Linked DNA regions of Homo sapiens: region 2 is linked to region 1. Evidence: promoter capture Hi-C in 16 types of primary human blood cells and fetal thymus (Javierre and others, 2016). All regions are on one chromosome and are shown on one strand. Each heading gives the region's core, a stretch centred on a gene start or on the middle of the fragment in contact. The rest is flanking DNA. Distances are from core to core; before and after follow the strand shown.

What was found. The method cuts DNA at HindIII sites, captures the fragments that hold promoters and counts their contacts. A CHiCAGO score of 5 or more calls a contact.
Region 2: a fragment that was not itself captured here is called in contact with the fragment with the promoter of FAM161A in region 1 in 2 of 17 cell types (M1 macrophages and naive CD4 T cells); the score reaches 5.5 in M1 macrophages.

The regions. Positions count from the first base shown.
Region 1 is chr2:61,850,901-61,856,215 of GRCh38, reverse strand. FAM161A (FAM161 centrosomal protein A) reads left to right here and starts at 2,156. Exons shown (of 7, transcript NM_001201543.2): 1 at 2,156-2,357. The coding sequence starts at 2,175. RefSeq lists enhancers at 963-1,012, 1,753-1,982, 2,223-2,382, 2,543-2,672. The HindIII fragment of the contact is 5,666 bases long and covers 1-2,582 here.
Region 2 is chr2:61,431,500-61,436,422 of GRCh38, reverse strand. All of the region lies in intron 1 of USP34 (ubiquitin specific peptidase 34), which reads left to right. Among named protein-coding and RNA genes, the nearest start is that of SNORA70B, 17 kb to the right of the region's middle. The HindIII fragment of the contact is 4,812 bases long and covers 1,175-4,923 here.

The sequences.
Region 1 (5,315 bases), core at 907-3,406:
CCGAGATCACGTCACTGCACTCCAGCCTGGGTGACAAGGAGACTCCATCTTAAAAAAAAAAAAATTGTTTTGTTAATTACAATAAATTATGTCAAAAACAAAGATAATTTCTTAAAACTCTTCACTTTCTTTTATGTTCCTTGCATCTACTGTATCTGTATGGTGGAAATACTATATAATGGTGTGCTACTAGACATCTTTTCTCAAATTCTTATTAAGTGATGTCACATTGGTGGCTTGAAATTGGCTATGATGGGAATATTGACATCATGGAAATCAGCAAAAGCTAAACATTGGACATTTAAACTTAAGAAACGGATGTGGAAAATATTAATGCAGAGTAAACTTAAAAGTTTGTGTTATCTGTAGCCTTTACATTGTGACTTGCAGAAAAAATTAAGAAAAATTATTCCAGTGTTAGAAAATGATTATCTATTTCAGCAAAGAAGTTGCTCATAACATTGACAAGTGAAATTCTGACATAGATCTTGGATATGTCACTCTCATCTTAATCACAAATAAAAACAAAAATATTAACCAACATTCATGTTGGAACTAGGTTGTTAAACAATTGCAACCATAAGTTGGCCACAAATACAGGAGTACAGCATAAACCAACGAAAGCATTCTGAGAGAAGCAATTGTCTATGAGGAATTTACAGTAAAGAGAATAGGATATTTCATTATTTATAATTCATCTGCTATAATTCCTTATCAATACTTTTGTTGGTGGTGGTGGTGGTGAGACGGAGTCTTGCTTTATTGCCCAGGCTGGAGTGCAGTGGCGCCATCCCGGCTCACTGCAACCTCCGCCTCCCGGGAGTGCGCCTGTAATCCCAGCTACTCCGGAGGCTGAGGCAGTTTTGTAGCCACAAAACTGGCTGCCGTGTCTGACTGGAAATTGCTCCCCTGGAAACTTGGCCACACCTGGCGGTGCATATCTCATGGTTCTGGCTCTGGCTTCTGCTTAGAACCCAGTCAGCATCTGTTCCAGCATGGGAAGCAACTGTTCAGCTAAAACCAAGAGCAGCCTGAAGGAAGTGGGGACGTAGGAGACTTTGTAGGTGCTCACACCCAGACAGGAGAACAAAGGTTTGGTAAGGGCTCAGACCTTAGAGACGGGTTCTCGACGATGTGCAGCGCATAACGAGGAAAATACTGACCGGAGGGGGCCGGTCGTAGGGCTGGGGAGCAGGAGGAGGGCAAAGGATAGAGAGGGGGTAGATAGGGAGTAGATAGGGGGCGGCAGCCTCGGCCTCAGTAAGCAGGGGCTCAGGGAGCAGATGTCTGAGACTGCACCACGTCCGCTATTTTGAGGTTTGGCTTCTCTTACTGCCACGTGGTGCAGAGGGAAGGCGCCATTTGATGCGTCCAAATCCCGAGTGGGAAGAGAAGATACGGATGAGGGAGATGGATGTGTCTGTGGTGACTCTTGGGCACTTGTGCCGTTCAATCCTGTCACTCTCAAGCTGAAGAACCCAAAGCAAACGCCAGGTTTACAATACCTGCACTATCACTCATTAGTGGGAGGGTCAGGCGCCACCCAACTCTGGGCTTTTATTGGTCATGTCAAGAAAAAAGCGAGAGGGACAACTGGGAGCCTCCTTCTGATTGGTGGATTCCTGCTAGCCCTCAAGTCAATCAGAGTAGAATGTACCGCCCTCCTTCCCACTCTGGCCCCCGCGGGAGACATGTTAGGTAGCGGGACGCCAACCTTGTCACTCTTCTGAGACCGCCACCCAGTAACACGCCCTGCTTTCCTCCGCCGCCGCCGTCTCCTCCATCAACTGTCTCCTTCTAACATGTTATTGCAGTTAATAAAAAAGCGTTCTTTTCTTCACAAAAGCAGTTGTTTCATTGTATAATGTGAGAAGTCTGCGTTCAGGCGGTTAGACGCAAAGGAGTGGAATAAGTGCCCTGTTCAGCCTGCCAACCTTCGGAACCAGCCAACAGACTCGGTACTGACTGCCATGATCCAGTAAGCACCCGACTCGGGTCTCTGGCAGCCTGAGTGGATTTTGCGTGACTTTTGGTCCCTGGCGGCTCCTGTAGCGTCCCCAGTTACGGCGCCCATAGCAACCGGCTCCCTAGCTAGGCGCCCCCGGGTTGCCAGGGGCCGCACCAGCTTTCCCGTCCCGGGCCAGCGCAGGCGCTCAGGCCTCGGAGGCGGGGCGATGGCCACCTCCCACCGAGTGGCGAAGCTGGTGGCCTCCAGTCTCCAGACCCCGGTAAATCCCATCACTGGAGCGCGGGTCGCCCAGTACGAACGCGAAGACCCCTTAAAGGCCCTGGCGGCAGCGGAGGCGATCTTGGAGGACGAAGAGGAGGAGAAAGTGGCTCAGCCCGCTGGGGCATCGGTAATACTGGGGCGGGACTTGGGCTGGGACCTCGCATGGGCTGGGTGCAGGCTGAGGGCTGTCCGGTTCCCCGCCCAGCTGAGGGCAGGCTGGTAAACGCGGGTCCCTGTGCACATAGTCCCTACTTGGTGGTCCTGGCCCAGCCCCTTCTCTACGCTCACGAAAATTACTCTAAATCGAGGCGTTGAAAAGTGTTTTAATTTTCACCAGTCTGTTGTAAAAGCTTCCTAGACAACATTTATGTTACTCTGCTTCTGGCAAGTGCAAAGTATAGAATTTTACTCTCTACTCTCCAGCATCTCGGGAATGGATATATAGAGATATATCTGGCTATATATAGTAATTTGAGGAAAACTGTTCTGTCAGGTGTGTTTCGTTATTACCTTAAGATCTTGGTTATAAGCGGATCTCAACATAGTGCTCTAAAGATGTGTGTTTAAAACCATCACGTGTTCACTGGCTAAATCAGACACGGATACAGATAAGCAAATCACTGAGGTTTCAGTGTTTCCTAAACAGCTCTTTAGGGTACAGCGAGACGGCCTTTTCACTGATCAGTTTTCATTGTTAAATCTGTTGTGGACACCAGTCCAGCAGGTAGAGGGCAGGGTCTGCCATCTGCTCAATTCACTTAAAAGATGGGAATCTTGGCCGGGCGCGGTGGCTCGTGCCTATAATCCCAGCACTTTGGGAGGCCGAGGTGGGCGGGTTACGAGGTCAGGAGTTCGAGACCAGCCTGACCAACATGGTGAAACCCCGTCTGTACTAAAAATACAAAATTTAGCCGGGCGTGGTGGTGCGCCCCTGTAATCCTAGTTACTCGGAAGGCTGAGGCAGGAGAATCGCTTGAACTTGGGAGGTGAGGGTTGCAGTGAGCTGAGATCTCAGACCCAGTCTCAAAAAAAAAAAAAAAAAAAAAAGATGGGAATCTTGAATTTAAACTAGCAATCTGCAGATAGAAAAAATTTCCTAATACCATGTGTCCAAAGCTTCTCAGACACCAAACTTATGATTGAGGACTAACTGAAATCACTGGATATTTTGGAATTCTGATCTCTTTAATCTACAGTAAAATTGTTAATGAGAACATCTTTAGCAACACCTTTTGTGACCAATCTTTCACCAACAGACAAACAACTTGAAGTTATCCAGAGTAAGGCAGACTGAGACCCTGAACATGAACCAGGATCAGAGTGCTAGGACCGATTTTGTTCATGATGAAGCTACCCCTCAACACAATTTTCAGTAGGCAACAAGGCAACGTGATGGAGAAAAAGGATTGAAGAGTTCTGTATTAGGATCCATTCCCTGCCACTTCCTAGGTGGTGTTAGGACATAATTTCCTTAAACCTCAGTTTCCTTATCTGTAAAATAACTATAATAATTGTCTCTTTTTTCCCATCTCAGCTCTATGAGAACCAAATGAAAGAATGTGTGTCTCCTCTAAAGAGCAATCTATGTAAATGAGTTGCCAGTGGGAGTGTCATTTGTGTGCCTTCCCAAAGATTAAACTCAACTTTGGCTTGCTGTGGTAAAGGAGTCAGTCACTTCTAAGTTGCAGATATGCTTCCACAGTGCCCTGTTAAACTGCAAATTTGTGTTAGAAACTGTTATTACCTTAGGAGGGATCAGTTTATACAATAATCTAGTTTGGAAAGGACAGGATCCTACAAAAAAAAAAAGGAAGCCAAGTCTTAAGAGTTTGGTACTGTTCTGAGACCACCACACATGAGGGATCCAAAAGTAAAGCTGGGTAAGCTGCCACAGTGGGCCTGATAGCCAGGGGGCACAGGCTGGGGGAAGAGGCATTAAGAAGGCAGGAAGAGTGCAGGAAATAGGCTCTGCTTTCTTCACTGGTTGGCTTGGGTCTCCATCTTGATTTTTAAAGGTTAATTTGCCTTAACCTTATTATCTATAAAATGTAGTAAAGTCAAATATTATACCTAACCCACAAGATTGATTTGAGAACCACCCATCACAATAGGCCTCTTTCAGCTCTTTGGTTTTGCCAAAGCCAGACCACTCATCCCACCCCACACTGCCCCCCAACCCCCCAACCCCTGCACCATCCCTATACACCCTCCCAGCTCTGGCATACACACGCACCCCCCTTGCAGTGCCCATATTGGGCACTGATGCCTGTTCCTTGAATCTAGCCTTAGTCAGAGATGTTGGTCCACATATCCTGTTATATGACTGATGATGACACAGGTAACGCAGTATTCTGTAATTCGCAATTAAAATCTCACTCCTCCCAGCACTTTGGGAGGCTGAGGCAGGTAGATCACTTGAGGTCAGGAGTTTGAGGCCAGCCTGGCCAACATGGCAAAACCCGGTCTCTACTAAAAATACAAAAAGTAGCCGGACGTGGTGGCACGCGCCTGTAATCCCAGCTACTAGGGGGCGCTGAGGCAGAATTGCCTGAACCCGGGAGGCGGAGGTTGCAGTGAGCTGAGATGCAAAAACTGCACTCCAGCCTGGGCAACAGAGTGAGACTATGTCTCAAAAAAATAAATAAATAAAAAGAAAAAATAAAATCTCACTCCTAATGGGGCAACCTTATCTTTTCAACAAATATTGAACATTTATTAAGTGCTAGTCATTAACTATTCAGTGTATATATAGCTCACATCCTCACAGAATTTTCAGTCTGGTGAGGGAAATCAGACAATTAAAAATGAACAGGGCCGGGCGCGGTGGCTCACATCTGTAATCCCATCACTTTGGGAGGCTGAGGTGGGTGGATCACCTGAGGTTGGGAGTTCAAGACCAGCGTGACCAACATAGAGAAACCCCATCTCTACTAAAAATACAAAATTAGCCGGGCGTGGTGGCACATGCCTGTAATCTCAGCTACTCAGGAGGCTGAGGCAGGAGGATCGCTTGAACCCGAGAGGTGGAGGTTGCAGTGAGCCGAGATCACGCCATTGTATTCCAGCCTGGACAACAAGAGCGAAA
Region 2 (4,923 bases), core at 2,331-4,830, 420 kb after region 1:
TCTGATATATGTAAAGCTACCCCAGCTCACTTTTGGTTTCTGTTTACATGGAATGTCTTTTCCCGTCCTTTCACTTTTAGTCTATGTGTGTCTTTATTTTGTTGGGACAGAGTTGTGCTCTGTTGCACAGGCTGGCACAATCTTGACTCACTGCAACCTCTTCCTCCCAGGTTCAAGCGATTCTTTTGCCTCAAATTCCCAAGTAGCTGAGATTACAGCATGAGCCACTGTGCCCAGCCAATTTTTTTGTATTTTTAGTACAGACATGGTTTTGTCATGTTGGCCAGGCTCTGTGGGTGACTTTAAAGATGAAGTTAGTATCTTGTTGACAGCATATTGTTGAATTTTTTTGTTGTTGTTCAGTCTATAACTTCTATTTTTTATATATATTTTTTGAGATGGTGTCTCACTTTGTCACCCAAGCTGGAGTGCAATGGGGTGATCTTGGTTTACTGCAGCCTCCGCCTCCCAGGTTCAAGCGATTCTCCTGCCTAAGCCTCCTGAGTAGCTGGGATTACAGGCGCACTCCACCATGCCCGGCTCATTTTTGTATTTTAGTAGAGATGAGGTTTTACTATATTGGCCAGGCTGGTCTCGAACTCCTGACCTCAAGTGATCTGCCCGTCGTGGCCTCCCAAAGTGCTGGGATTACAGGCATGAGCCACTGCGCATGGCCAGTGTATAACTTTTAAATGGGGGAATTTAAATCATTTGTGCTCAAGGTATTATTGATAGGTGAGGACTTACTCCTGCCATTTTATTGATTGTTTTTTAGTTACTACATTATATATCCTTTGTTCCTTGCTTGCTCTTCCATATATGAAATTCTTGAGCATTTCTTATAAGGCAATCTACTGATGAGTATTTCCTCAGTTTTTCTTTGTTTGTGAAGGTTTATTTCTCCTGCGTTTCTGCAGGACAGCTTTGCTGGGTATAATCTTGATAAGCTGTTTTTTTGTTTTTTTTTTAGTACTTTAACTCTGTTAATCCCATTCACTCCTTGCCTGTAAGGATTCTGCTGAGAAATCTGTTAGTCTGGTGGAGATACTTTTATTTGTGACTTGATGCTTTTCTTTTGCTGCTTTTAGAGTTCTTTTTTTTTTTTTTTTTTTTTTGAAACAAGGTCTCACTCTGTTGCCCAGGCTAGATAGAATACAGTGGCGCAATTAAAGCTTATTGCAGCCTTGACTTCCTGGACTCAGGTGATTCTCCCACCTCAGCCTCTGAGTAGCTGGGACTATAAGCATTCACCACCATGTCCAGCTAATTTTTATATTTTTTTGTAGAGATGGGGTCTCACCACGTTGCCCAGGCTGGTTTTGAATTCCTGGCCTTAAGCAATCCACCTGCCTTGGCCTCCCAAAGTGCTGAGATTATAGGTGTGAGGTGCTGTGCTTGGCCTCTTTGTTGAATTTCTCATTAAAATCATGAATTATTTTCCTTATTTCATTAAAGTTCTTACCTGTATTCCCTTGTACCTCCTGAGTTTCCTTAAGATCGTTATTTTGAGTTCTTTTTCTGGCATTTTATATATTTCTTTATGATTGGGGTCTATTACAGGAGAATTATACTGTTTGCCTTTGAAGATGTCATGTTTCTTTTTTCTCTGTTGATTTCTCTACATTGTTTCTACACATTGTTGGAACCCCCCCCCTTTCAATTTTATGGAGTAAATTTTATAGGGAAAGACTTAATTTATATAAGTGGATCTTAGATCAGTGGAGTGTGTTGGCCTTGGTTCTGTGTGGACACAGTAATGTAGTTTCTTCATCTGTAATCTGTACTAGTGACATTTGAGAGTTTCTCAGCAGCCTAGGATGAGGAAGTGTGTGGTGCAGCTTTGCCAGGGGGGTTGGCTCATTGGGCTGTTTCTCAAGTCAGGGACACATGTATGCATATGGTGAGTTGGCCAACTTGGGGTCTGGCTTGCTGGGGTTGAAGCCACAGGACTGTTACTCTGGCCAGGAGCACAGGCATGTGGTTGCTCAATTGGCTTGGTGTTGTGCCTGGCAGGAGTGGCCCATGGTTTCTCAGGTCTAGGACACAGGTGCACAACTGCTCAGCCAGCCTAGATGTGTCTGTCAGGTGTTGCCCATTGGGCTGTTTCTTAGGACTGGGATGTGGGCTCTTGGCTGCCTGGCTGGCCTGGGGGGATGCCCATCAGGGACGACCTGTGGTAATGTTTCTGAGGCCCTTATTGGGGGCGCAGGGCTGTTCGGGAGGCCAGAAGCATGTCTACATGGGGCAGAGGTGCTAGGAGCCTTTTTCTTAGGCACTGAGTAAGGGTGCATGGCTGCTTCACTAACCTTGGGGTGTATCACATGCTCTTTGGCTTGCGGGCCTCCACTACTTTGGAGAGAGCTTATAGTGGCTTGGTTGGCTTATGGGCAGGTTTGTCCTGGATGGGACTGTCAGACTGTTCCTTTGGCTTGAAGTGTGGTCTGGTTGTGGGAGTTGGTTTTCCCTGCTGTGCGGGACCAAAGTTGCAGCTATAGTTGTGGCATTCATTCACCTGTGTGGCCTTGGTGTAATGAAGATGGAGCTGAAGTGCTGCAGAGGTGCAGTGGCTACTGGCCCCCAGAGGGTGCACTCCAGAGGTGGCTCTGGTTTCAAGATGGTGTTGCACTGCCACAGCTTGTTTCACTGGGGGTAGGTGGGGGTTGGGGAGCACATTCCTTGTGCTCCTAATTTGGGCAGTGCAGCTGTATGGATTTCCAGCAGTTGTCTAAATTGGGCTCAGGGCTTGCAAGGACTGTGGGATTCTCCTTTTTATTTTATTTATAGTTTTTGAGATGGAGTCTTACTCTGTTGCCCAGGCTGGAGTGCAGTGGCACGATCTTGGTTCACTGCAACCTCTGCCTCCTGGGTTCAAGTGATTCTCCTGCCTCAGCCTCCTCAGTAGTTGGGATTACAGGCACCCACCACCACGCCCGGCTAATTTTTATATTTTTAGTAGAGATGGGGTTTCACCTTCTTGGCCAGGGTGGTCTTGAACTCATGACCTCAAGTGATCCGCCTGCCTCAGCTCCTCAAAGTGCTGGGATTACAGGCATGAGCCACCGCACCTGGCCGATTCGCCACTTGTAAGGAGTGTAGGTGTTTGTGGTGGTAATGGGAGTGCTGGTGAGGGATCTTCTGCTTACTTTTTCCCTGCATCAGGAAGTCCCTGCTGACTGCAGGCAAATCCCATCTGGGTGAGGGGAGATGGGGCTGCAGAGGCTGGATGCTTCCATACTGCCTTCCTGGACTTTGTCACCAACAGGTGTGTCTCCATTCCCCAACTGCACTCAGATGGTCTCTCTGACACACCTGTCAGATCTTAGCTGTTTATTTGTTAACCTTTGTCCTTTCTTGTGTGTAGGATGAATGCTAGGTGTCTTTAGTCAGTCTCCCTGATTCTTTTTTTAATATTCTTCATAACTTTGCTGGAATTCTTCAGCTTATCTAATATCTTGAATGTATTACCTATTGTAACTAATATCTTAATCTTCTGTTTTATTGTTCTCTTATTTTCACCCTTGTTTCTGGCTATGTGGTATGTGGTCTTGGTTTTTGGTTCTCTGGTCATTGTAGAAAGTTTTAGATATCTAGAGTCATGTGCAGAAATGGGAAAGTTTATGGGCAGTGAACACTTATGTACCCATCACCCAGTCAACATTTACCAACTCATGGGTAGTTTTTTTTTTCACCTTACCTTATCCATTGTCTCTCTCCCACCCACTGGATTAGCTTGAAGTAAATCCAGGTGTTATATATTATCTGTATATATTTAAATATATTAAAATAACCATTTAGCATTTAAAAATTTTAAAGATGGGGTCTTGCTGTGTTGCCCAGGCTGGCCTAGAACTCTTGAGCTCAAACAGTCCTCTCACCTCAGCCTCCTGAATAGTTGGAACTAGAGACACACACCACTGTGTCCAGCTTTGTTTGTTTACGTATTTATGAGACAGGGTCTCACTCTGTCACCCAGGCTGGAGTGCAGTGGCATGCTCCTGGTTCACTGCAGCCTTGACCTCCTGGGGCTCAAGCTGTCTGCCCACCTCAGCTTCCTGAGTAGCTAAGACTGTAGGTACGGGATATTATGCCCAGCTAATTTTTGTCTTTTTTTTGTAGAGATGGGGTTTTGCCATGTTATCCAGGCTGGTCTTGAACGCCTGAATTCAAGCCATCTGCCCACCTTGGCCACTCAAAGTGCTAGGATTACAGGAAAATGTCACTACATTCCATTTTTTTTTTTTAATTGAAAAACGGTGGGTTCTGTCTAAGTTGCCCAGGCTGGTCTCAAACACCTGGGCCCAAGCAAATCTTGCCTTGGCCTCCCAAAGTGCTGTGATTACAGGCGTGAGCTGCTACCCCTGGCCATGGTCTGTTTTTTGTTATTTTAAATTCATACGTAATTCTTATACATATTTATAGGGTACAGCATGCTATTTCAATACCTTTATATGATGTGTAATGATCAAATTGGGGTAATTATTGTTATCTCAAGCATTTATCATTCTTTGTGTTGGGAACATTCAAAATCCTCTCTGCTATTTATTTATCTTTTATTTATTTATTTTTTTGAGATGGAGTCTTGCTCTTGTTGCCCAGGCTGGAATGCAGTGGTGCGATTTCAGCTCACTGCAACCTCCGCCTCCCGGGTTCAAGTGATTCTCCTGCCGCGGGTCTCAAGTAGCTGGGATTACAGGCGCCTAACACCATGCCCGGCTAAGTTTTTGAATTTTAGTAGAGATGGGGTTTCACCAGATTGGCCAGGCTGGTCTCGAACTCCTAACCTCAGGTATTCCACCCACTTGGCCTCCCAGAGTGCTGGGATTACAGGTGTGAGCCACCACGCCCGGCCAGCCTCTGCTAGCTAAAATGTCAGATTATTAACTATAGTAATCCTAAAGCCAGGATCAGTGACTCATGTCTGTA